Linked DNA regions of Homo sapiens: region 1 is linked to region 2. Evidence: promoter capture Hi-C in human tissues and cell types (Jung and others, 2019). All regions are on one chromosome and are shown on one strand. The core of a region is centred on a gene start or on the middle of the fragment in contact, and the rest is flanking DNA. Distances in the headings are between cores, read along the strand shown. Region 1 overlaps LINC00682 (long intergenic non-protein coding RNA 682). Region 2 holds the start of PHOX2B (paired like homeobox 2B).

Region 1 (3,019 bases), core at 458-2,957, 130 kb before region 2:
CTTTCCGGGCATGGCCAAGTTTGTTCGGTGGCTCAGAGCGGGAAGGGAAGTGCAGTTCGACACCTGTCCAGCTGCTCCGCTTGGAGATCAAAGGCCGGCTATGGGCTGAGCGACAGATTTACGGGACGGTGGTACAGATTAAGGCGAGAACCCTGCCGGTCCTGGACTCGAGTTCGCACCCAAGGAAAGCGTACAGGTCCCTGGAAGCGGGTGGATGTCGGAGAGGCCGAGGCAGCCTGCGCTGTGGCCAGGCAGGCTTGGTGGGCTTTAGTCTCAGTATGTGTTCTTTAAAGTCTTGACAGGTTATTAGTAAAGGAAGGGGCACCCCAGGGTCATGAAGATGCTTCTCGCTCTGGCCCAAGCATGCTGAGGCTCGCTTATTCCTCGGCCAGGCCCAGTAAAACAGCTCAAGCACAGCCTGGAGTCTTCCCGCATCTGCGCGGGAGTAGAGTCTGGCTTTGGGCCCCGCGTACCCCGCAGTCGTCGGGGACCAGTTCGAGGCCACGGGAAGGGTTTCCGCGGCAGGGCGCGGAGTAAAGAGGGGAAGAAGGAATCCTCTCCGCGTGATCAGTAGGGCGGGCTTGTGATACTCTCACACCCAGGTTCCAGCTCAGCCCCCAAACTGCTGCCCCAAGAAAACAAGTTGGGGAGTGTGGATTTAGACATAACAACGGGTGTGAGCTGATGTCCTTACAACCAAAAATATTGAGACTAGAAATTCAGCTCCGAATCCACGACCCTCAGATTGATGCTTAATCGCACCCTCGACTCCAGAAAAGCTGCCGGGGACAGACATGGACAGGTTTTGCCAAGGGTTCATTAAAATAGTCTGCACTGGAATAACCGGGGTGCAAGAGATCACGTCTTCACTCAGGGCTTTGGGGATCCCCTCGTCGCCCCAGGTCAGTGGGTGGGGAGGAGGGCAAACTTCTGTCTTTTGTTTGTGGGTGAGGGATGCGAATTGTGGCAGCAGCCGAGAAAAGGGGGGAAATTAATTGCAGCCAATTAATAATTAATCCCCTTTAAACAGCTTTATTATCTCTTCTGGGCGACAGAGATTTGTCTGATAACCCCCTGAAGACCAAATGTCAAGTTTAACCAAATAGTTATTGCTTTATCAACCCGAGTCTGCAAATAAATTAATCAAAAGCAAATCTGTCCTTTGTGCGGCTCATTTGCTGGTAATGGATGGATATGAAGATTTGCCGATATTATTGTCTGTCATTCAATCTAACAAAGTGAACATTTATTGCATATATATTAAAAATTATCCCGGAATCGAGTGGCGCCGGGTTGCATTTATTGGAGTCTTCCCAGGGGTGAGGTCCCCTCGGATGGGGGCGCGTGGGATAGAAAGTGCAGGAGCGCGAGTCTCAAATCTCTTTAGGACTCTGTGCCTGCCTCTGTCCCCCTCCCCGCAGCGACCTCCCTCTATCCCCTTCCCTAGCCTTCGCCCCGGAGCCGCAGGACGTGCCTGCAGCCTCCTGTCGCGCGGCCAGGGCCAGCGGGGCGCGGGGAGCCCAGCTACTGTCAAAACAGAGTCCTTCAGCCTTAAGCACTCACAAGGGGTCCGGCCCTAGGAAATGTGGGGAGGGGGTGTGATTGAAGAGAGAGAAACGGGAGGGGGACAGCTTTCCTTTGTCTTCTCTCGAGTTACATCATTTTCTAATTAGGCATAAAATTGTCTTCATACACTGGTATTGCGGCCTTCATAAACATCGCCATTATGGTTTATAAGGACGCCATTGTGGTGAGGCTGTCCCAAAATAGAAAGAGCTGGGGAGGGAGAGGCCTGGAGTCCGGGAGGCCCCGCTTTGTCCTCCCCTGGGAGAAGATGGATGGCCAGTGTCACGCAGATGATGACTTGGGACTATTAAATTGTCAGAGGGGGGCAGAATCTTTACCAGCCCCCAGCGCTGGTGGAAAATTCTAGAGGCAGGAGCCGGGGGTTCTTGGATGGGAGGGGAAGGCCGGGCAGCTGGATTCGCTGGGCAGGTGGAAAAAGAGGTAAGTTAGTCGCTGGCAGAGGCAGAGCGGAGGGCAGTGGGGGCCGAGGCTTTGATCTCCTCCCGGGGCACCCTGACTTCGCTGCTCTCTGAGCTCAGGGCCACTGGATCTGGAGCTGACCTCCCACCCGATCCCCATCGCCAAGGTTGGGAAACAAGCAGGGCTAGAGAAATGAGAGGGGCAGCGAACCCGGAGGAGCGGCGGAGGGCTATGCCAGGCGGGGAGACAATTGTTCTCATTATTCGGAGCTGAGGCCCAAGCCCGGCCACCCGCCCGGTCGGGGGGCGCGTCGCTAACTGGATGGAGATGGATGGAGGCGCCCTGAGCCCCCGGCGTCGTGTCAGACCCGGGGCAATTACTGTCCCGCCAGGATGGACACACTGCCCTGCCATCCTGACCCCGGCGCGCAGGCCCACTGGCCCACTGGCTGCCTAAGCCGCCTGGGCGATTCTCTCTCTCGCCTTTACAATAACCCAACTTGACATAAATAACTCCCCTGAGCTTGTCTACATCTGCTTGACCTCCTGAACCCGCGGAAAATCTTTTGTTGCATTTAGCTAACTTACATTTTTCTATAGAAAAAAAACTTTTAAAACTGCATATTCTAGCCTCGGCTTATTCACCTCTAGTTCGGTCTCTGGTATATGTTGGAATTCACATTGCCCTTCCAAATCATGGAGGACAGTTCCCTCCTGCGAAGACAGGTTTCTCCCTGTTTATGCTGCGGGCACAAGTGTGCTGTTCCGGGTGTCCTGAGTTTTGCAAGGTGGCCTACAGACACTTGGTGCTCCAGGAAGTGGTCAGGTCTCCAAAATCCTCTCCCCTGGTAGCTGGGGTGGGAGTGGGGGCCAAAAGGGTGAAGAGGACAGCAGTTCTCAGGAGTGCTGATGCCCTGCTTGGTCCTGGCTGTCTAAGGGTGCAGCTAGGCGACAAGGCCAGTTGGCAGAAGCAGCCAGGTGCCCCACGTGTGCTCTCTCGCTGACCTGATCTGGCAGGGTTAGGAAGGGGCCAG
Region 2 (2,938 bases), core at 238-2,737:
ACTTTATGAGTTTGTTACTTTAATTACTGACTTGTTACAGAGCACATAAAGGGGGTAATGAATGCAATAAAACTAATTATCTACACATTTAATTCATATAAAATATCCAGGGTTTGTTTACACCACACGGCGATTCAGCTAAGCTTTCCCCCTCTTGTCCACCGAGAGGAAGGATTTAATGAAATAGTTTCCCTTATTCTGCTAGGGCCTAACAAACCAAATGAAAATTACCCTCCGCTTAAATCATGGGGCCACTGAAGTCCACAAATCACTGCTCGCTCCTTTGTCTGTGCCTCGCTGCCAGCACCCAAAAGCCTGAGGAATCGGACAAGAAAGGTGCCCGACCTGGAGCCCTTGCCTGGGCATTTACATGGCAAGAATTTCCCTCACTACAGTCCGCAAACCTAAAAGGCAAACAGACACAATCCCCGGGTCTGTGGAGGATTGTGGGCACCTGAAAAAAAAAAAGAGGCGAGAAAGAGGGAGAGCGCCCGAAAGAGATGAAAGAGGAGATACATTTGGGTACACTTCATGCTCGCTTGCCAGTTATGGTGTAATTAAAACGAACAACCTCACAGAAACTCAAACCAACCAAGGCTTGCGCTAATGCAAACAGACAGAACTGAGAGCAAAGAACACAACGGTCGAGAATCCAGATGTTTCACATTCGAAAGCTTTCCTCAGATTTTTTTATTATTATTTTTAAGTGGCTGTATACCCTGAGTCTCTTGAAAGCACATTTAGCTGCAAGAAGAAATGCAATTTATAAGATGCTTTCTCTCTGTCTCTCTTTTTTTTAACCCCCTCTACCAGGTGTATTTTTAAAGAAATCCGCTTATCGTTCACATAAACCCCCTTGGCCCACTTACTCTATGTTACAGGGCGCCTGAGTCTTGCCAATGTCCCAGTCCTTTATAACATTTCATGCACTTCGGGGGGTAGGCTTGTTGTTAAATTGAGCGTGTAACACTCTTACAAAACAGGTTTTCTATGACATCAAGGTTTCTTCTCCCTAACCGAGGGGGAAAAAAAGAAGAGGACGAAGAAGGGGGAAAACACACACACTATCTCAATTTATGCCTAAGGTATATGATCAGTTAAAAAGGCTTAAAAGCTCGGGGAAATTGGATCAGGGAGAATCGTCACCCAACTTTCATTATTTCCAAGTAGTGTGATTGAATTAAAGGGCAGGGAGCTGGTTAGAAGGGAGGATCAGGGGCTCGGTGCGTAATGGTGTGGTATTAAATTCTAATTAGAGATGCAGGAATCAATGATAGGGAGGTTGGACAGCTCAGTTCCCCAGTGCCAGCCCAATAGACGGATGAGTTATTGTCATGTAAAAAGCGCCAGCAATAAGACCAACCGCTTTGCTATTGTCCAAGTGGAAAGAGCCAAGTTTATTATGAGGACTATATGCTCTAGAGACCTCAGACAAGGCATCTCATAGGAGGCTTTTTCATAAAACTAGGCTCTGCTGGTAGTAAGGAGGCCAGTTTGGAGGCAGGCGTTGAGCTGTGCACATCTCCCCACTCCAGCCACCTTCTCCATATCCATCTTTTATTTCATTTTTCCACTTGGCTGAGCCATCCAGAACCTTTTCAATGTATAAAATGGAATATTCTTACCTCAATTCCTCTGCCTACGAGTCCTGTATGGCTGGGATGGACACCTCGAGCCTGGCTTCAGCCTATGCTGACTTCAGTTCCTGCAGCCAGGCCAGTGGCTTCCAGTATAACCCGATAAGGACCACTTTTGGGGCCACGTCCGGCTGCCCTTCCCTCACGCCGGGATCCTGCAGCCTGGGCACCCTCAGGGACCACCAGAGCAGTCCGTACGCCGCAGGTAAGGACCTTCAGCTTTCTCAGCGGAGGAAGCCGCCTTTCCGCCCGTATATAGGAAGCCTTGATTGCATTTGAAAATGGAAATGTGTTTAGTATTTACCAAACGAAATTTGCTTACACAAATGAAAGAATTTATCACGTTAGAAGCGATTGCAGGGAGGGGTAATTCACTTACAGGGTTACACTATCCTAGTCACACCCGAACCGCCAACAAAATTATCTTAAGCTGCCAAAATGATAGGCATAATTTATTTACTTTGCGATGAGACGTAAAGCTTAGAAAATAATTAAATAACAAAGAGTAAAGCTCATTACTGGCAGTGTCTCTTTTTTTAAGAACCGACAGCGGCTCACACCTCTTTGGCTGGTCATTTTTATGATTATTTCTTTAATTTATTATTATTTTTTTGCAGCTCTTTCCCCCAACTTTTGAGCCGGGTCAACTTTCTGAGAATTGAAAAGTTCCCAAAGTGGGACTGTTTGGTAACTTCTTTCCTGGCTCCCTGATATTCCGACTGATGTTTTTGGATTTTTTTCCTCTCTGGTTTTTTCCTGCTGAAAGCACTATCTCAAGTCCGTCACATCGCGCTGTTTCAATCCACCCAAAGGCGCTTGTGCCAGAAAGGACTCCGCCAAGCCCGAAGTTTGAGCCCAGGTTTCCGCAGATAACAAATTTCCTCGGTTTCTTCCCGCAGCTTCTCTCGGCAACTCTCTCGCGCGGGTGTAGGTAGCGGCTGCCGTATGACCTGACCTTGGAGTCCTCACATTCTAGCTCCACGGCCGGCGAGCTGCCGGCTGATTTGCTCACTTTCTGTCTCCTCTGTCATACTCTAGTTCCTTACAAACTCTTCACGGACCACGGCGGCCTCAACGAGAAGCGCAAGCAGCGGCGCATCCGCACCACTTTCACCAGTGCCCAGCTCAAAGAGCTGGAAAGGGTCTTCGCGGAGACTCACTACCCCGACATCTACACTCGGGAGGAGCTGGCCCTGAAGATCGACCTCACAGAGGCGCGAGTCCAGGTACGCGCGCCTGGAAACCGACCCCGCTCCGCCGCACTGGTCCGGGGAGGTGTGGGGTGAGGGGCGGCTGGTGAA

The links. The method cuts DNA at HindIII sites, captures the fragments that hold promoters and counts their contacts. A contact is called where the count stands out against the background at its distance.
Region 1: a fragment that was not itself captured here is called in contact with the fragment with the promoter of PHOX2B in region 2 in 1 of the 25 tissues and cell types used here (mesendoderm cells).

Annotation. Positions count from the first base shown.
Region 1 is chr4:41,877,656-41,880,674 of GRCh38, reverse strand. LINC00682 (long intergenic non-protein coding RNA 682) reads left to right here. Exons shown (of 2, transcript NR_104143.1): 2 at 1-1,154. Among named protein-coding and RNA genes, the nearest start is that of LINC00682, 3.4 kb to the left of the region's middle. RefSeq lists an enhancer at 114-866. The HindIII fragment of the contact is 7,009 bases long and covers 1-3,019 here.
Region 2 is chr4:41,747,274-41,750,211 of GRCh38, reverse strand. It overlaps PHOX2B (paired like homeobox 2B), which reads left to right and starts at 1,487. Exons shown (of 3, transcript NM_003924.4): 1 at 1,487-1,842; 2 at 2,676-2,863. The coding sequence starts at 1,602. It overlaps PHOX2B-AS1 (PHOX2B antisense RNA 1), which reads right to left and starts at 1,863. Exons shown (of 4, transcript NR_187403.1): 1 at 1,626-1,863. The HindIII fragment of the contact is 4,691 bases long and covers 410-2,938 here.